7 separate regions of the Homo sapiens genome follow, and all the other regions are linked to region 2. Evidence: promoter capture Hi-C in 16 types of primary human blood cells and fetal thymus (Javierre and others, 2016). All regions are on one chromosome and are shown on one strand. The core of a region is centred on a gene start or on the middle of the fragment in contact, and the rest is flanking DNA. Distances in the headings are between cores, read along the strand shown. Region 1 overlaps SH2D7 (SH2 domain containing 7). Region 2 holds the start of IREB2 (iron responsive element binding protein 2). Region 3 has its middle 5.5 kb from the start of MORF4L1. Region 4 overlaps MORF4L1 (mortality factor 4 like 1). Region 5 overlaps TBC1D2B (TBC1 domain family member 2B). Region 6 overlaps IDH3A (isocitrate dehydrogenase (NAD(+)) 3 catalytic subunit alpha). Region 7 has its middle 4.2 kb from the start of CIB2.

Region 1 (2,700 bases), core at 87-2,586, 340 kb before region 2:
ATACAAATAGAAAAATTAACAGAATAGAGTCCCAAAATAGTCCCAAATGTTTGGTTACCAGATTTACAACAGAGGCATCACTGCAATTCCGTGGGGGAAAGGCTTGTTTTTTCAATAATTGGTGCAGGAGCAATTGGATATCTAAATGGAAAACAATTACTGCTACCTCATACCATACATGAAAATTAATTAATTCTAGATGGATCGTAGATCCAAGAAAGAAAAGCAAAACAATACCATTTCTAGAAGAAAACAGGAAAACATTGTCATAGGTAAATGAAAATGCCTTTGAAAATGAGAGGCCAAGTTTTTTTAAACAGGACACAAAAAGCGCTAATCTTAAAAGAGTGATTAACTTGATTTCCTTAAAATTAAGAATTTTTTAAAATTTATTTATTTATTTATTTATTTTTTGGAGACAGAGTCTCGCTCTCTCGCTCTGGCTGGAGTGCAGTGGCGCGATCTCTGCTCACTGCCACCTTTGCCTCCCGGGTTCAAGCAATTCTCCTGTCTCAGCCTCCCAACTAGCTGGGACTACAGGCACACGCCACCACACCCAGCTAATTTTTGTATTTTTAGTAGAGATGGGGTTTCACCATATTGGTCAGGCTGGTCTCAATCTCCTGACCTTGGGTGATCCACCTGCCTCAGCCTCCCAAAGTGCTGGGATTACAGGCGTGAGCCACTGCACCTAGCCAAAATTAAGAATTTTTATAATTCTTATAAAGAGATATTATTAAGAGAAGAAAAAGGTCAGGGTGCAGTCTTGAAGAAGTTATCTATTAGAATACAAATATCTAACAAAGGACTCAAATCCAGAATATATAAAGAACTCCTACAAATAAATAAGCAAAAATAGATAATTCAATAAGTAAAAGCAAAAGAACTGAGCAGGCACTTTACCAAAAAGAAAAACCCAGAAGGCCCATAAGCATATGAAAACATGTTCAGCATCATTAGCTATCAGGGAAACACAAATTAAAGCCACAATGGATGGCTATAATGGAAAGACAGAATATGTGGAACAACTGGAGCTCTCATACATTGCAATAATTTTATTTTATTTTTGAGATGGAGTTTCACTCTTGTCACCTAGCTGGAGTGCAATGGCACAATCTCAGCCCACTGCAACCTCCGCCTCCAGGGTTCAAGCAATTTTCCTACCTCAGCCTCCAGAGTAGCTGGGATTACAGGCAACCACCACGACACCGGCTATTTTTTTTTTTTTAATTTTTAGTAGAGATGGGGTTTCACTATATTGATCAAGCTGGTCTTGAACTCCTGACCTCAAGTGATTTGCCTGCCTCGGCCCCTCAAAGTGCTGGGATTACAGGCATGAGCCACTGCACCTGGCGCATTGCAATAATTTTAGAAAGCAATTTGGCATGATTTACTAAAGCCAAACACGGGTGTACCCTTGACCCATCAACTCTACTCCTTGGTATATTCACATCAGAAATGAGTACATATTCACCAAAAGATATGCACAAGAATGCTCACAGCAGCTTTATTTATAACAGCCCAAATCCGGAAACTACCTAAATGTCTATCATCAGAATAGGTACATGGTGGATTTTTCATTAACTAGAATACTACATATAAATGAGAAAAAAAAGAAACTAATTCTACTTGGACATGAATCAATCTCCAAGATATAATGTTGAGTGAAATGTGCTAGACACAAAAGAGAAGTATTATAGAAGTTCTCTAATGGGCAAGACTAATCTATGCTGATAGGCGTCGGAATGGTGGCTACCTTTAGGGGGCATTGACTGGATGGGAGCGCAAGTAGGTCTTCTGGGGGCTGGAAGGGTTTTGTATCTTGACCTGAGTGGCAGTTACATGGGAGGGTTCCTATATGGAAATTCATCAAGCTGCACATTTATAATGTACACACATCACTGTGTAGAGGTTATTCTTCTAGGAAAAAGGGAGATGAAGAGGGTAGGATTTTAGGGTGGGACTTTACAGGCCGAAGAGGGGGTGGGAGCTGGAACTCCATCATTGCAGCAGGGTGGGGAGTAGGGTGAGGTTGAGTTGTACAGGTGCAGGGTTGGATCCTGTCTTTATTTAAAACTTTGGTGTTTTGTTCATTGTGGATTTTTTTCATATATTTTGATTTTCTAAAATACTGCGTTATTAGTTTTCTTTATTGAGTTTTTTGGTGCCCCTTTAAATTTCGCACCTAAGATGAGTGCCTCACTTGCCTCACTCCAGTCACAGCCGTGCTCTCCCTGACTCCACCAGAGCAGGCTTAGGTACTTCCCAGGATCCCAGGGCTCCACGGTTTGAAAACCTCTCCGTAGCTTCCTGATGAACACACCATGGCTCCAAGTGGGGTACAGTGGCCCCAGGTCAGGCAGGTCTGTTCTGGATCAAGAGCTGGGACCCCTCACCTGCACCCAGGCACAGAGCTCAGACCCTGGGCCAAGGCTGGGCTGCCTGTGACCAGCAGCCCCAGACCACAAGCACTTGTGTTGCAGGGGCAGTGATCGCTGCCGACATTTTGTCATCAACCAGCTTCGAAACCGGCGTTACATCATCTCAGGAGACACCCAGAGCCACAGCACCCTGGCTGAGCTTGTGCACCATTACCAGGAGGCACAGCTCGAGCCCTTCAAAGAGATGCTGACTGCTGCCTGCCCCCGGGTAGGCGCCCCACTTCCCCAGGGTGAGGGTGGCAGGGCAGAGAGCCCAGGC
Region 2 (2,700 bases), core at 141-2,640:
CATGGGTACTAGGATATACACCTCCGGGTTTAGGAGATAGGCTCAGGTCACAGGCAGACTGGGAAGCATCAACATATTAACTAATAACTGAAGTCAAAGGAAGTGTGAGATGGGCCAGGGAAAATGGACAGAGGGAGGAGGTACAAGGCCAGAGCCCTGGGACACATTTAATGTCCAATATATTTTTTTTTGAGACAGGGTCTTGCTGTGTTGCTCAGGCTGGAGTGCAGTGGTGCAATCATGGCTCACCACAGCCTCAATCTCCTGGGCCCAAGTGATCCTCCCACCTCAGCCTCCTGAGTAGCTGAGACTACAGGTGCATGCCACCACACTCAGCTAATTTTTAAATTTTTTTTGTAGAGATAGGGTCTCACTACGTTGCTGTGTTTGGTCTTGAACTTTTCAGCTCAAGCCATCCTCCCACTTTGGCCTCCTAAAGTGCTGGAATTACAGGCATGAGCTACTGTGCCCATCAAGTGCCCAGTACATTTAAAAGCTGGGCGGAGGAAGAGGTCTGCAGAGGAGCCTGAGATCAAGCACCCTTAGGAGAAGAAACAAAAGTAGAGTCTGAAGTCACAGAAGCTGATGGAAGAGTATTTTTCAACAATGGGAGAGAACCAGTCAAGATTGAGATATGTGAGATTAGAAAGTGGAGTTATAGCTGGCCTTGGCTAAAGGCATTTCTGGGAGTGGAAGCCAGACTGGAAGAGGATAAGAAGTGGGTGGGGGAGAGCCGAGTATGAGCGACTCTTTCTGGTAAGTTGCTGCGACAGGAGATAATGCTGGGTAGGTGGAGAACACAGGGACCGGAGGAGCTGAGGCGGAAGGATGGAGAGGCTTAAGCATGTGTTAACTGCCACTGGGAAGAAGTCGGCAATCACGGAAGCTACCGGAGGGTAAGAAAAAATTCATTCATTCAACAGTTGAGCGCCTCCCACGCGCCCGATCAGTATGGCCGCCCCCACTTGAAAACACGCGTGTGGGCCGCCCACGTCTGACAAGTTAATGCAAGGCTTTATAGTTAGGGGAAAGCGGTTCTCCTTGAGCTCTTTCTCCTAGCAGTTCCGATTCCGACCCTGACTCCAACAGACACCTTGCGGGAACGCAAACACCGCTCGAATTCATGACCCCAATAGAAAACTTAAGGCCGCAACTAAGTAACGGATCGCTGCGAAGGCCAAACTAGCCACGCCAACGCCCCCACTGGAGCCTCCCCAGCGCTCCGCCCCCGCTCGCGAGAACAGCGGCGACGGCGCGAGAAATCGCTTTCTGGTTAGCTCCGCCCCTTCCCTTTCTTTGTTTTCCTGTCCGACGATCTCGCGGGAGTTAGGCGACAAATCCCGCGAGCGCAGACCCGGGGCTGGCTCTGCTGCTCTCGCGATATTTGCGCGAGCCTGCTTCCTTCTTTCCTCCCTTGCCAGTCCGCCTGTCTTCCTCCCCGTCTTCCCTGCCCGGCCTCCCCCTTCTTCCCCCGCTGGCCCCCTCCCCGGAGGGATAATATGGTCTCCGGCGATGGACGCCCCAAAAGCAGGTCAGTTTCGGGCCTCCGAGCTGGGTCTGGCAGTTGGAAACGCGCGCTGCCTAGGCGCCGAATTCCTTGCTTTTCTCGCCTGGAGTCGCTCGGCAGGCGCCCAGGCCCTCGGGGCTCGGGTTGTGCTCCCCTCGGGGCCTGCCTGCTGGGCCGCCCTTTGAGCCTAGGCCGCGGAAGCTGGGGCTCCCGATCCCCACCCTCCTGCGCGACACCCGCAGGGCGGGCCACCCCACCGCTGGCCTTGACCCGCACCCCTCTCTCTCCGGTGGCCGCTGCCTGCTGCCAGCGGCTTCCTGGCCCCCGTCAGCAACACCAGGGGCAGGGAGAGGCCCACCGTCTTCTCCTGCCCGCCCCCCATTGGCGAGCGATGAAGGCGGGGGCCTGCGTCTCCGTGTTCGGGTCTCACGCAGCTAGATGTTGATTCCACGGTCCAGCCTAAGGCCCCTCAGTCTCTCTGTGCCTCTGGAAGCCGAATGAGGGGCAGTCAAGGTTGAACATTGGTCAGTCAGTTCTCCGACCATTTATTGCACCGCTGTCTCCTCCCCCGTCCACCTCCCTCTACAAAAAAAAAAAAAGAGAAAAAAATACTATTCATTCTGAAAATGGGCTGTGCTTATGTTTTCTCCTTTTGGATGAAAGCCTTAACAATGTTGAGGGTCCTGGCCACCCACCGCTATGAGTCTGCACAAAAGATCTGAAGGTTCTTTTCAACCTCAGGGCTGCCTCCCCGCCACTGCCCCCTAGAATGTTGGGAGCTGAGGCACGTTTAAATGAGACCTCTGGATCTTTGACTTAGTAGTTCAGCTTCAGTTCGTGCAAAACCAGAAGACTTGTCTCTTTCGGGTAGAATATGCTAATTTCCTAGAGATTCTGTTACTTTTATTTTCAGTACTAAGCCCTGGTAAGGACTTAACTGAGAAGTTTTTTTGTTTTGGTTTATTGAATGCTCTGTAAAAATCCGTCTTTTAGTTTTTTTTTTTAATCAGTCCCTCTAATGTTAATTGTGGAATTCACAAATTCCTGTCTCTGCAGTTTTCAAGACATGTCTTTCCAAAACGTCCCCGTGGATTATTTAAATCATTCTTATTGTCCCTTTCCAGGTATTCTTATCACATTTCAGGAGTGAATTATCTTACTAGTTTTTACTTGACAAATTATGGTTTAGAACT
Region 3 (2,700 bases), core at 81-2,580, 430 kb after region 2:
CTCATCCAACTTCATGGACCCTTTGAATTGTATCCACAGACTCCTAACTTAAGAACTTCTGCTCTACGTTTAAAAAGACAAGAGATTTGGCCAGGCACGGTGGCTCGTGCCTGTAATTCCAGCACTTTGGGAGGCTGGGGGAGGTGGATCACTTGAGGTCAGGAGTTTAAGACCAGCCTGGCCAACGTGGTGAAATCCCGCCTCTACTAAAAATACAAAAATTAGCTGGGCGTGGTGGTGTGTGTCTGTAATCCCAGCTACTCTGAGGCAGAATGGCTTGAACCCAGGAGGCGGAGGTTACAGTGAGCCGAGATTTGAGACTCTGTCTCAAAAAAAAAACAGAACAAACAAACAAAAAAACAAGAGATTGCTCAGTTCTGGGGCATAATTAAAAAAAAAAAAAGAGATTGTAGCCAGGAGTGGTGACTCACACCTGTGACCCCAGCACTTTGGGAGGCTGAGGCGGGCAGATCACCTGAGGTCGGGAGTTCGAGACCAGCCTGACCAACATGGAGAAATCCCATCTCTACTAAAAATACAAAAATTAGCCAGGCATAGTGGCGCATGCCTGTAATCTCAGCTACTCAGGAGGCTGAGGCAGGAGAATTGCTTGAACCCGGGAGGCGAAGGTTGCAGTGAGCCGAGATTGTGCCATTGCACTCCAGCTTGGGTAACAAGAGTGAAGCTCCGTCTCAAAAAAAAAAAAAATTTAACAATCAAATGTAATACATTGTTATTTAATAGGTCTTGTTTTGAAAAAAGGAGGACACAAACAAGCGAGGAAATCTGGAGTGAGTACTGCATAATTTTAGGAAACTATTGTTATTCCCTATTGACATAGGTTTCTAATAGCAACAACTTGAAAGCAGACTGCATGTTATTGTGCTGGATGTGATATGGTATTGTGGCATGTAGAGAATGCTTATTTTGGAAGTACATACTAAAGAAACCAGGTGTGAATGGTTATTATGTGTTTACACACACACACACCCCACATAAATATGTCAATATAAGGCACATCCGGGGAAATGTTCACAGTTGTTTAACGGAGGTGATAAAAAATGTCTTTTTCTTCTTCTTCTTTTTTTTTTTCCTGAGATGGAGTCTTGCTCCGCCGCCCAGGCTGGAGTGCAGTGGCACAATCTCGGCTCACTGCAACCTCTGCCTCCCGGGTTCAAATGATTCTCCTGCCTCAGACTCCTGAGTAGCTGGGACTACAGGCATGTGCCACAGCGCCCGGCTAATTTTTATATTTTTAGTAGAGACGGGGTTTCACCATGTTGGCCAGGCTGGTCTCAAACTCTTGACCTTGTGACCCACCTGCCTTGGCCTCCCAAAGTGTTGGGATTACAGGCGTGAGCCACTGCACCTGGCTAAAATGTATTATTCTTTCTACTTTTCTGTATGTTTGAACTTTTCATAATAAAATCTTTAAAAAGCGACTTTAAAAATATTTTTATTGAGGTATAATGTAGGTTTGTTAAGGTGCATTACTAGTAAGTGTACAGCTTGATGAATTTTTACATGTGTAAAACATGTAACACCATCTAACCACACCAGATTAAGATACAGAACATTTCTGTCACTGTTCTGTAGTTTCCTAGTGCCCATAATTTCTAACACTATTGATAAAGTATATACTCTTTCATGTCTGGTTTCTTTTGTACAACACGAGTTCCTGTTATATTAAAGCCAGTTTTCATGCAGGGCACAGTGGCTCACACCTGTAATCCTGGCACTTTTGGAGGCTGAGGCAGGTGGATGGCCTGAGCTCAGGAGTTCAAGACCAGCCTGGGCAACACGGTGAAACCCCGTCTCTACTAAAATACAAAATGTTAGCTGGGCATGGCAGCGTGCACTTGTAATCCTAGCTACTCGGGAGGCTGAGATAGCAGAATCGCTTGAACCCGGGAGGTGGAGTTTGCAGTGAGCCGAGATCATGCCATTACACTCCAGCCTGGGTGACAGAGCGAGGCTCCACGTCAAAACAAAAACAGGCTGGGCGCAGTGGCTCACGCCTGTAATCCCAGCACTTTGGGAGGCCGAGGCGGGTGGATCATGAGGTCATGAGTTCAAGACCAGCCTGGCCAAGATGGTGAAACCCTGTCTCTACTAAAACTACAAATATTAGCTGGGCATGGTAGCAGGTGCCTGTAATCCCAGCTACTTGGGAGGCTGAGGCAGGAGAATCGCTTGAACCCGGGTGGCGGAGGTTGCGGTGAGCCAAGATCGTGCCACTGCACTCCAGCCTGGGCGACAGGGTGAGACTCCATCTCAAAAAAAACAAACACCAGTTTTCAGAGACTCCATGATGCCATGTTTGTCAAGAATGTGGAAAAACAAGCCTTTTCTTAAATTGCTAGTTGAAATGTAAAATGATGAAACCTTTCACAAGGCAATTTAAAATGCCCACATTCTTTGACCTAGTAATTCTACTTCTTGGGTCCTGAAAAAATAAAAGCAAAGTGCAGAAGGCAGGCATGGTGGCGTGATCTGTATTCCCAGCTACTCTGGAAGCTGAGGCGTGAGGATTGCTTGAGCCTAGGATTCCAGGCTGGACACTCTAGCCAGGACAACATAGCCTGGCTGTGTTGACACGCTACCCTGGACAACATAGTGAGACCCTGTCTCTTAAAAAAAAAAAAGAAAAGAAAAAGCAATGTGCACAAAGATTAGATAAATCTTGAAATATTTATACTA
Region 4 (2,700 bases), core at 150-2,649, 450 kb after region 2:
AATCCCGTCTCTTAAAATACAAAAATGAGCTGGGAGTGGTGGTGGGTGCCTATGGTCCCAGCTACTTGGAAGGCTGAGGCAGGAGAATCGCTTGAACCCGGGAGGAGGAGGTTGCAGTGAGCCGAGATCACCCAACAGACAGAGCAAGACTCCATCTCAAAATAAATAAATAAAGCAAAATTAGCAATTTACCATTTGACAGTATATAAGTGACGTGAGGTAAGTTGCTGTTAGAGATGATAATCAAGATGAGGAGACTTAAAACAAAAAAATTACACAAATCTAAAAATATTTTGGGGAACAAAAATAATTGGAAAAAAATTTTAACCTTTGACACCTTTTTTTTTTGGTGGGCCTAATAATGTAGTATATACTATAACATATATTAATATAACCCTGGAAGAACGAAGTTGTTTACTAAAGTGTTCTTGGTTTGCTTTTCTTTTTTTTTTGTCTTTGAGACAGGGTCTCTGTCACCAAGACTGGAGTGCAGTGGTGCAATCAAGGCTCACTGCAGCCTTGGCCTCCTGGGCTCAAGCAATCCTCTCACCTCAGCTTCCCAAGTAGCTGGGACTATAGGCGTTTGCCAGTATGCCCAGTTAATTTTTGTATTTTTTATAGAGAACAGGATTTGCCATGTTGCCCAGGCTGGTCTGGAATTTTGAGCTCTAGAGATCCACCCCCTCTTCACCTCCCAAAATGCTGGGATTACAGGCATGTGCCACTGCGCCTGGCTTGGTTTATTTTTTTCTATTATGTGGAGAGAGATGGGAATTTAACCAACTATCAATAAAAATCCTTGTGTCTGAGTAGGACACATATTTACCACCTGATCCTTTATCCAAGTTAGTATTTCTCTGTGAACTTAACCCTGATAAAGGGAGTTGAAACAGAGGCAGTTTTACTGGAAATAATTATTTTTCTTTTTTTTCTCTCCTTTTAGGAAAACGAAAAAGAACAAACAGAAAAGTAAGAATATTAACTTTCTTAACGTTAATTTATGTTACCTCTATGACATTGACGTTTTTATTTTGAAAGCTATGAAATTTTGGAGTAAGCTTATGTTTATTGATTATCTCAAATAGGAGTCTCACAGCAGTGTTATAAAATAGGTACATGGTGGTAGAGACCTCTTTTTGCCAAGGAGAAACTTGTGAGCATTTATTTTCATCTGCTTTAGTCTTAATGTCTCCCACTGAGAAGATAACATTTATAAATAAATGGAAGATGGTGATACTAAATGTTGTCTATACTAAATGTTCGGTAGAGCTCTTCATGAAAGTTGTATTTTTGGTAGGAATATGATTCTTTAACTTAGATTGAGGTAACAGCTGTGTAATGGAGAAATAATGAAAAGGGTTAATGTGTCAAGAGACTATTTTCCTTATAGAGTTTGTTAAATTAGCTAAATGAGACCCCTCCCCGCCAACATTTACAGCACCTGGAAATGGAGATGGTGGCAGTACCAGTGAGACCCCTCAGCCTCCTCGGAAGAAAAGGGCCCGGGTAGATCCTACTGTTGAAAATGTGAGTTTTTCTTGTGTTTATGAATAGCATGTTAGGATTTTTAGTCTCAGTTACATGACATAACCATGGGAGCTTTGATTATCTACAAGATTTGCTTACATGGTTAATACCTGAAATTAAAAATTTTCTCTTTTGGGGGTAAAGGATAAATTTCTGTATATCTTTATTTCACCTGTAGCTCCAGATTTACCTACCCAATTGATCATTTGTTGTGTAAGCTTCATGTTCACCTACAAGACTATTTCTTTGGTGTTACGTATTTATTTTTAGGAGTTAAAGATGTACCTTTAAGATGGTTGTGTTTGGAATAGTTTTGATATCCATGGTAAATAAGAAAATACTAAGTTAAAATGTATCAAGTCAGGGTGTTTCATTTCCTGAACAAGAGGAACCTTACTGAAGAATTTTTACCTTTACAAGAAAATGCACTAAATAGACTATAGTTCAGGTCAGATTCTTTTCTCCCAACAGCGAACCGCGTATGGTCGTTTTTATTAATGATTTTAAAAAATGACAGTACAGCTGTATGCTTGGCTACTTTAAGATTTATCCCTAGTGCCTCTAAAAGTCAGCTCCCCTCCATGTTTGGTATTTAGCAAGAAAGGTTAGGTTTTTAATACTCCTCCTGTTTCTGTTTAGGAGGAAACATTCATGAACAGAGTTGAAGTTAAAGTAAAGATTCCTGAAGAGCTAAAACCGTGGCTTGTTGATGACTGGGACTTAATTACCAGGCAAAAACAGGTAACTTGAAAAGCTACCCAGATTGTTAAGCTATATGATACATTCTTGCTAGCAAAAAAAGTTTTTAAAGGAAAATGTTATATTGACTTGAATTATTAAGGTATGACTGATAAAATAATATTTTAATTTAGAGGCTGAACACTTTAGAACTACTACCAGAAAGAGTAAGTTAGAAGAATAAAAGTTCACATATAAATTTTATGAGGTTATAATGATAAAGGTGGAAATAACTCATTTTTGGAGATTGCTAGGGCAGGAACTCGTTCTGAAAATTCATAAAGGTGAAGAAGCATATGTCTTACTGTCATTGCTAATGGTAGGCCATAGAAAGCACACACCACCACCTGCAAGGTATTCATGACCCTGAAAAGAACCTGAATCTTACTAAGCGCCTGGATCTATTGTTAGTTTGCAGGAAATAGGATGTTTAAT
Region 5 (2,700 bases), core at 30-2,529, 430 kb before region 2:
AAATATGTGTCACAGAGTGAATGTCATCCAGGGGCTGGCCACACTGGTGAGAGAAAAGCTGAGAAGCCAAACAGCTGACAGTGAGGCAGCCCAGAGTTATAGCAAGGGCAGAAAGCCACCCTGCAGGGGAGCAATGAAGGGAGCCGGTGGGGTCAGCTGTTGGCACAGAGGACCCACCGGACAGGAGCTGGGCACAGAGGAGACAAAGCCACCTTCAGAGGCAGTGCCCGAGATGGGGAGAGGGAAAACCCCTTCAGTCCCTCCTGTCACCCTTCAGTCTCCTGCCAGCACCTCCCGCTGGCCTGCAGGGCCAGGCCTTGCAACACCAAGTGGTGCAGGAGAAGGGCAAGGAGAGGCTGTGAGCAGGCAGGCCAGGCGGGGGCACAGACCTGGAGAAGAGACACGAGACAGGGCAGGCACACACGGGGACAGCTGTGGCTAAGAGAGAAGCTGCCTGAGTCTGGGCCACATGCGAAGGGCCGGCTTACGGGGAAGCCAGTGCTGGCAGCAGCCCCAGCCCAGCCTAGGGATGATTCAAGGGCCAAGGATCTGGTCCAGGGCCAGGACTGTCCCAAGCAAAGGCAGAAACACTGGGCTCTCCCAGCCCTTATCACTCTGCCCTGGCCCCTGGCGTCAGACTCCAGGTGTGGATGGCATGAAATGCGCCACTCAGACTCCCACTGCAGGAGGTGACTGCAGGCCCCACTGCTGCCCCTCTGGTGCATCACCACGTTCATTCCCAGCAGCAGGGCATGGGTGCGGCAGCGGCAGGAATGCAGCCCATCTGTGGAGGCAGGTGCCTTGGTCACTGCCCTTGGCTTGAGGGCTCCCCACTGGCCCTGCCCAGACTTCCTCAGGACTGCATGGTGGTCACTGCACAGGGTCTGGGACTCTCCTCCCCATCCTCCTCCCTTCCTGGGGCTGGAACTTCTCTGTCCCTTGTCCTCCACAGGGGCTTCCCCCCGCCGAAGTCTCTGGTTTGTCTCATTCCAGCCTGACATTGCTTCTTGAGAGCCTGAGCTAACACACCAGTCACCCAAGCACACCTGGATTATGACTCAGCCCACTGGTAGGCCTGTGTCCGGGGAAGACAGTGCAGAGCAGTGAACACAATGTTAGGCCTGCAGGACGGGTCTGTCTCTGCTGGTTCGCAGGGGGCTGAATGAGCCCAACTCGGCCTCAGTCACAAACAGCAGGCCATGACTGGGGACAGCCTCTGAGATGTGGCCTGCTGTCTTCAGGAATCAGTCTCTGAAGTCACATACACAAAGCAACCCCTCACCCTGACCGCAGGTTTAATTCAGGTCACATTTCAGCTGCAATTCTAAAAGTGGTGACTAAAACACAGAATTTTCAGAACTACCTGGGATCCTAAAAGAGTCTTTGTATAATAGTCTCGAGGCATGAAAACTTCCACTATGGTAACGAGACACCAGAAAGCATCTTCTTGTTCCAGGTACAGGAGGGCCACTGCCACCAACCTACAAGCAAAGGGAGGACAAGATGAGAGCCCAGGCACAGACAGCTGCTACTACAGTCTCCACAGAGACCATCTGCTTTAAGCCACTTTTTCTCTCATGGCCAAAATTATTTCTAGTTCTCCAATAAAGAATAATAAGGACCTGGCTTAATGGCTCACGCCTATTATACTAGCACTCTGGGAGGCCAAGACAGGAAGATCACTTGAGGCTAGGAGTTTAAGACCAGCCTGGGCAACATAGCAAGACTCCATCTCTAAAAAAACAAAAAACCAAAAATCAGCCAGGAGTAGCGACGCACACCTGTAGTCCTAGCTACCCAGTAGGCTGAGGCAGGAGGATCACTTGAGCCCAGGAGGTGGAGGCTACAGTGAATGATAATCGCACTACTGCACTCCAGCCTGTGCAACAGAACAAGACCTTGTCTCATTAAAAAAAAAAAAGGAGGGGGTGCATTTCCTAAAATTTGAGAAGCAAAGCTACTTTTCCCCACTTTCATTTGGTTTTTGTTCAAAGATGAAATTGTTTCCCAATGATCAGCCAGCCTCATTAAAAAAAAGTTTTCATTATAAGATTTTTGCGGCTGGGCGCAATGGCTCACGCCTGTAATCCCAGCACTTTGGGAGGCCGAGGCGGGCAGATCACGAGGTCAGGAGATTGAGACCATCCTGGCTGACACGGTGAAACCCTGTCTCTACTAAAGATACAAAAAAATTAGCCAGGCGCGGTGGCGGGCGCCTGTAGTCCAAGCTACCTGGGAGGCTGAGGCAGGAGAATGGCGTGAACCCGGGAGGCAGAGCTTGCAGTGAGCCGAGATAGCTCCACTGCACTCCGGCCTGGGCGAGAGAGCCAGACTCCGTCTCAAAAAAAAAAAAAAAAAAAGATTTTTGCAAATGCAGCTGATTCTTTGAGTTCATCAAGAAGTTCCAAATAACCCTTTTATGCACAAAAATTCCAGATGTGAATGTAAGTAACAAAGAATACAGAATGGTTTAAAACAGCTTTCCCAACACCATCCTGCTTCCAGGCTGAAGGAATAAAATGGGCTGCAGATGAGGGCACCCCAAAGGAGCTAACAGCGCTGTGCCCACTGCATGCACAGCAGGGGAAGAGGACCATGTGTCTCACTTGCTTTGTTGTTCATAACGGAAACTGGGGTCAGCTATTTACATGCTGTCACTAATCAATAGCCCTGGTATGGCTCCAAGCGGGAATCTGGAGC
Region 6 (2,700 bases), core at 164-2,663, 280 kb before region 2:
ATGGTCAAGAATGTTGGCACAAAATGATCCACTCATCTGAGAAGAATCTGTATGTTGAGCTGAAAAAGTAGTTTTATTCTACCTTCAACATCTTTTATTTGACAACTTATATTCGTTAAATTGACTTTGAAAATATACAGTACTCAATCTAAAGTAAAAATCTGAGTATTTAGGCTTTCAAATCTGAGATAGCTTGCCACATTGAGCTAATACATGAGATTTGTATTCCTGGGAAGCTACTGAATATATCTGTGCCAAGTTGCAGCATTACCATCCATCAGGACTTCCTCGCTCTTGTTTACTGTATGTGGTTTAATTCTGTGTGTGATATTTCTCTGTTGATATTAATATAGGTCTCTCGGCTGCTGGGGGCATTCCACAACCCAAAACAGGTGACCAGAGGTTTTACTGGTGGTGTGAGTATAATTATGTCTTTTATTTTTTCCTTTTAGAAGTTTCTCAAGAAAGATGCTCTAACATATTTATTATATAGCATTTTATCTCCATTCATTTAGAATTTGGGAAAATTGGCCATATTTATAATGTATGTTGAAATTACTGGCTGACATGCACAAATCTGTTAGGTTACTTGCGCATTTGAAAGAATTATCTTACAGCTGGCTATGTAAGTTTGTCACATTAATATCTTGAGGGAGCCTTGTTAAAAATAGAAAGTACCCTTGAGCCTGTTATTTTATTTCACAATCTCATTTTGGTGAGACAGCTTTTTTCAAAACTAGTACAAGTTGAGAGAAAATTGTTGAGAAGCTTCAAAACCTGCTTTGCATTTTTATTTTATGGGCTTCCCTAAACCCAGTAGATTGAGTGCCAATTAGGAATGCCTCGAACATCTATAAGCCTTGTAGGCTTATACTTGCCTTATATAGGCTTTGTAGACTATCACAGTAGTAGATCATCTATTGTTCATTAAATCTGCTGCTTTTAGAATTCCCAGCATCAGAATTCTGTGCTTTAAAAGCTGATACCACATTTTTGGAACATTCTAAGACTGTGGGTCAGTGACTTCCTATTTGTTTTGATCCCCGCCCCGCCTTTTATGGAATCTGATTTGGATTTCATAATTCCTATACTCCCATATAACATCTATGCCGTGAAAGATTTATAAGACCATAGTACATTTTTTCCTCCATTTACTTTCTGTATTGTGGAAGAAAAGCAGATTTTCTGGTGACTGGATGACATTTATTATTACATGTTGGGAGAACAGGAAGAAGTAGCCAAAGCGTTCTTTTGGCTCTGCTTATGCCAAAAATGCAGGATGGGGCTTGCACTTCAAGCTCAAGGATAGCCATGCTAGCATTTCAAACGCATTCTGAAAGCTAATAAGATGATCATTGCTCTCTGCTATTATTTAATTTTCAGGCTATTTATTTGAAAAAAAAATTAGCTTGATGGAGGAGGTTATTTTTGAAGAAATAAGAGGATGTATTAATTTTTTTAAAGACTTCTTCAACCCGAGAAAACTGGTATGAGCCTTAGCCCTGGCTAAGACTGAGGTGGGAGATTTGCTTAAGGCCAGGAGTTCGAGGCTGCAGTGAGCTGTGATCACACCTGTGAGTAGCCACTGTGCTCCTGCCTGGCAATGTAGTGAGTCCTCATCTCTAAAAAATAAAAATTGAAAATTAGAAAAATGAAAAAAATAAAAATGTTTCTTCAGTTGTACAGAAACTAATCAGAAATAATTAGTCCACGTATCTGGGCAGACATCATTGGAAGGCAAAGGACCAAGGAAACTTGAATTAGTGACTTTTTAAAAATGCAGTTCAAGCAACTAGAACTGAAAAAAAGCCAAGCCCCTAGGTGGGGTAAAGTCCCAAGATAATAAAATATGTGGTTCCCAAATGGAAAAAGAGGTGCTGATCTTCTCCCTTACATATTTTTATTTCTGCATTTGAAATGCTGGCTTCGTTTTGCCTGAAGCCTTAGAATAAATCATTGCTGTTACATTATAAAAACAATAATTGTCATTCTAAGTGTGACTCAGGCTTTGCAGGTATGATGACATATACTATTCTTTTTGGTTGCAGATCAACTTTGCCAAGCTTATGTAGATTACTCTTAGATTTAAGCAGACAGTTTTATAGAGGAACTAAGAAAAAAATGGAAGCTCTCTTGATAAAAAGTCTGATTTTCCCTGAGTACCAAAACAGACCTCAGTAATATTTTGGAAATGTGTCTGAAAATGTTTTGCAAGACTGAAGAAGTTGCATGAGAAGCTTTCCAGGATCACAATGGAAAGGAAAGGAAAACACTTGCCTTCATGAGAAACCGTCTAAATTTTAGTGAGAGAACATTGTTAATTTTTTGTTGTTGTTGTCTTTGGTTTAAAAGATTTGAATTAATTGGTCTCTTTGCAGCTTGTCTGAAAAGAAATATCAATTAGGAAATCTACTTGGTAGTTTAATTTATTTTCGTTTTATGTAAAGAGTATCATTTGGTTCTTTTTAAAACCTCTGAACTCAGGTAAAGAGTAGGATTGCAGAGTCTCTCCTCTGTTGATTCCTGCCTCCCCTTTGATGACCCCCGGGGAGGTATGTTTGTTTTCTTAACAGCATTTGAATCTTCCTGAGACATCTCATAAAGTGGATTTCTCTGTCAAAATATTCTTTTTTAAGCCTTCAAAAACAAAAATTCTTACTGTCTTCTTTGATGATTTCTTATGTTCAGGTTCAGACAGTA
Region 7 (2,700 bases), core at 93-2,592, 300 kb before region 2:
TCAACATGGCGAAACCCTGTCTCTGCTAAAAATACAAAAAATTGGCCTGGCGTGGTGGCGTGCCTGTAGTCCCAGCTACTCAGGAGGCTGAGGCAGGAGGATCACTTGAACCCGAGAGGCAGAGGTTGCTGTGAGCCAAGATCGTGCCATTGCACTCCAGCCGGGGCGACAAGAGCGAAACTCCATCTCAAAAAAAAAAAAAAATCTTTTTGGATCATTATTACCATGGCCTATCTGAAGCTCTCTCTCTTGAGCAATGCTGTGAGGAGGGGCAAGGAACACAATTCCCATGTTACAGATAAGAAACCTGGGGCTCAGAGAGGCCAAATGACTTGCCTGATGCCCCCCAGCTGGGAAGTGGCAAAGCAAAGCTCTAACGTCGTTCTCTGATTCCAAATCCTGTGCTTTAGCTGCTCCCTGATGTTGAGTGTGGTCCCTGAGGAGCAGAGTGTGTGTGTTTGCTGGGAGGGAGGATGGGCCGAGGGAGAAGAATAAAACATTACTGATTACTTATCTAGTGCCCAGAATTGTACTGGATGTGCTATATTTACTGAATTTGATTATTCCACAATAGCCTCCTCAGTCTGTGGAGTTTCATATTATTATCCCATTTCACAGGTGAAGAAATAGTTTCAGAGAAGGTGACTTGCCCAAGGTCACATAGCTGGTAACAGGTAGATTTAAATCTGGGCCCTGACTCTTTTCTTTTCTTTTTTCTTTTTTTTTTTTTTTTTTTTTGAGACAGTCTTACTCTGTCGCCCAGGGGCATGATCTCAGCTCACTGCAACCTCTGCCTCCCGGGTTTAAGTGATTCTTCTGCCTCAGCCTCCTGAGTAGCTGGGACTACAGGTGGGAGCCACCACACCCAGCTAATTTTTGTATTTTTAATAGAGACGGTGTTTCACCATGTTGGCCAGGCTGGTCTCGAACTCCTGACCTCCTCAGCCTCCCAAAGTTGGGATTACAGGCATGAGCCACCGTGCCCTGCCGGACTCTTCTCTTGATCACACAGTCTAGGACAGGGAAACGTGGTTACCAGTGTTTAAAGGGGGCTGACTCCTTGTCAATTGCAGTCTTGTAAATAATGTAAAAGGAAAAGGCAGCAGGGGTGCCAGATACTCATTAAATGTTAGCTTATTTTTTTTCATTTCTGATTCACACAATGAAGTTTATTTTAAAATTTGGAAGGAAAACAGGAATAAATGCTACCAAGTGCTTCTTTGGGATGAGAGGTCATCTTGACCTGCTGCCCAAGTGCTCGTTTGTGATGATGATGCACTTTGTGATCAAGATGACCTCTCATCCCAGAGAAGCCTTGTAGCATTTACTGCAGAACAACTCAATCTGCAAGTTGTTCTTCTAAGACTTAGAATCTAGATAGATCTTTTTGTTTGTTTGTTTTTGTTTTGTTTTGTTTTTTTGAGACGGAGTCTCGCTCTGTCGCCCAGGCTGGAGTGCAGTGGCGCGATCTTGGCTCACTGCAAGCTCCGCCTCCTGGGTTCCTGCCATTCTCCTGCCTCAGCCTCTTAAGTAGCTGGGACTGCAGGCGCCTGCCACCATGCCCAGCTATTTTTTTGTATTTTTAGTAGAGACGGGGTTTCACTGTGTTAGCCAGGATGGTCTTGATCTCCTGACCCTGTGATCCGCCCGTCTCAGCCTGAATCTAGGTAGATCTTAATGACAGAGATGGAAGATCCCTGGGCCCAAGGTCTGGGTGGGACCATCTCTTAAAGTAAACGAAGCCTGCAGCCTGTCTTCTAGCAGCTCTGTGGGCCCTGTGAGTCATTCCCCAGTCCTCCACTCAAATCCTTTACTATCCCACCTCTACTTTTTATCAGCTCAGGACCCCACCTGCTATCTTGGCTCATGGGAATCTTCTCTATCTTAGGGGCAATTCAAATCTTACTCTTATCTTTACCTATAAAGCATTGTCATCTTGGCGTCTTCCCTGACATGGCTGTGATTTATAGTGTGTGAGCAGTTACTAGGTCTGCCTCAGTCTCTCTCTCTTTCTCTCTCTCTCCCTCTCTCTCTCACACACACATACCCTGCAACCCCTTGTTTAACCTGGCCTATATCCTAGCACTGAACAGCTTGTCTCTGTTTCTCTAGCATTTTGCACATAGTAGGTTCTTAATGAGTATTTGGTGGATAAATAAATACACACCCTGGGACTGTTTTTTTTTTTGTCCTGAGGAGGGTTATTTTTCCCTCTCAAACACTAAGAAACAGGAGGGCTGGGACCAGGGCTGGGACCACATGTTCGTCTGTATCCCCAGACACAGAGGAATCTCCCAGGGTCTAGCACATGGTCTTAGCAAATGTAAAATCAACACCCTTTAAAAGAGTACATTTTCCTGGACCTGTTCATACATTTAATCAACTAGATCCCCAAATATTCTGACTTGAAAAAGATTTTCTTACTGGAGGATTTAGTGACCAGTCGTTTAGCGCAGAGCCAACAGAATGAAACCCCTTTCTCTCTTCCGGGAGACTGACCTGCCCTAGAGCCTTCCCCAGAAGCTACTCTGGATGTGAGAAGTTACTGGATGGCTCAAATGGGACCCCAGCTGGATGGCGACTGTCCTGTTGTTGAGGGAGGAGGGGGTCAATTTCCTCCACAAATCTGCTTCTTCTGGATCGTGTCCCACCCACCTCTTGGATGCCTTTGACATCTTTGGAGGCACCCTTGATTTCTCT

What was found. The method cuts DNA at HindIII sites, captures the fragments that hold promoters and counts their contacts. A CHiCAGO score of 5 or more calls a contact.
Region 1: a contact is called between a fragment that was not itself captured here and the fragment with the promoter of IREB2 in region 2, in 2 of 17 cell types (activated CD4 T cells and total CD4 T cells). The highest score is 5.5, in activated CD4 T cells.
Region 3: a contact is called between a fragment that was not itself captured here and the fragment with the promoter of IREB2 in region 2, in 1 of 17 cell types (neutrophils). The highest score is 6.0, in neutrophils.
Region 4: a contact is called between a fragment that was not itself captured here and the fragment with the promoter of IREB2 in region 2, in 4 of 17 cell types (naive CD8 T cells, erythroblasts, total CD8 T cells and 1 more). The highest score is 6.3, in naive CD8 T cells.
Region 5: a fragment that was not itself captured here is called in contact with the fragment with the promoter of IREB2 in region 2 in 1 of 17 cell types (neutrophils); the score reaches 5.8 in neutrophils.
Region 6: a contact is called between a fragment that was not itself captured here and the fragment with the promoter of IREB2 in region 2, in 2 of 17 cell types (total CD8 T cells and total CD4 T cells). The highest score is 6.9, in total CD8 T cells.
Region 7: a fragment that was not itself captured here is called in contact with the fragment with the promoter of IREB2 in region 2 in 2 of 17 cell types (naive CD8 T cells and non-activated CD4 T cells); the score reaches 5.7 in naive CD8 T cells.

Annotation. Positions count from the first base shown.
Region 1 is chr15:78,095,446-78,098,145 of GRCh38, forward strand. It overlaps SH2D7 (SH2 domain containing 7), which reads left to right. Exons shown (of 6, transcript NM_001101404.2): 3 at 2,484-2,649. Among named protein-coding and RNA genes, the nearest start is that of SH2D7, 4.2 kb to the left of the region's middle. The HindIII fragment of the contact is 4,220 bases long and covers 1-2,700 here.
Region 2 is chr15:78,436,826-78,439,525 of GRCh38, forward strand. IREB2 (iron responsive element binding protein 2) reads left to right here and starts at 1,391. Exons shown (of 22, transcript NM_004136.4): 1 at 1,391-1,531. The coding sequence starts at 1,513. RefSeq lists enhancers at 926-1,005, 1,076-1,135 and a silencer at 1,606-1,845. The HindIII fragment of the contact is 13,990 bases long and covers 1-2,700 here.
Region 3 is chr15:78,866,087-78,868,786 of GRCh38, forward strand. No RefSeq gene overlaps it. Among named protein-coding and RNA genes, the nearest start is that of MORF4L1, 5.5 kb to the right of the region's middle. The HindIII fragment of the contact is 7,287 bases long and covers 1-2,700 here.
Region 4 is chr15:78,890,046-78,892,745 of GRCh38, forward strand. MORF4L1 (mortality factor 4 like 1) reads left to right here. Exons shown (of 12, transcript NM_006791.4): 6 at 944-969; 7 at 1,439-1,527; 8 at 2,167-2,268. Among named protein-coding and RNA genes, the nearest start is that of MORF4L1, 19 kb to the left of the region's middle. The HindIII fragment of the contact is 687 bases long and covers 1,057-1,743 here.
Region 5 is chr15:78,007,634-78,010,333 of GRCh38, forward strand. It overlaps TBC1D2B (TBC1 domain family member 2B), which reads right to left. Exons shown (of 13, transcript NM_144572.2): 10 at 1,364-1,481. Among named protein-coding and RNA genes, the nearest start is that of TBC1D2B, 69 kb to the right of the region's middle. The HindIII fragment of the contact is 2,998 bases long and covers 1-2,700 here.
Region 6 is chr15:78,154,860-78,157,559 of GRCh38, forward strand. IDH3A (isocitrate dehydrogenase (NAD(+)) 3 catalytic subunit alpha) reads left to right here. Exons shown (of 11, transcript NM_005530.3): 2 at 354-416; 3 at 2,689-2,700. Among named protein-coding and RNA genes, the nearest start is that of IDH3A, 6.8 kb to the left of the region's middle. The HindIII fragment of the contact is 1,295 bases long and covers 767-2,061 here.
Region 7 is chr15:78,134,294-78,136,993 of GRCh38, forward strand. No RefSeq gene overlaps it. Among named protein-coding and RNA genes, the nearest start is that of CIB2, 4.2 kb to the left of the region's middle. The HindIII fragment of the contact is 4,331 bases long and covers 1-2,700 here.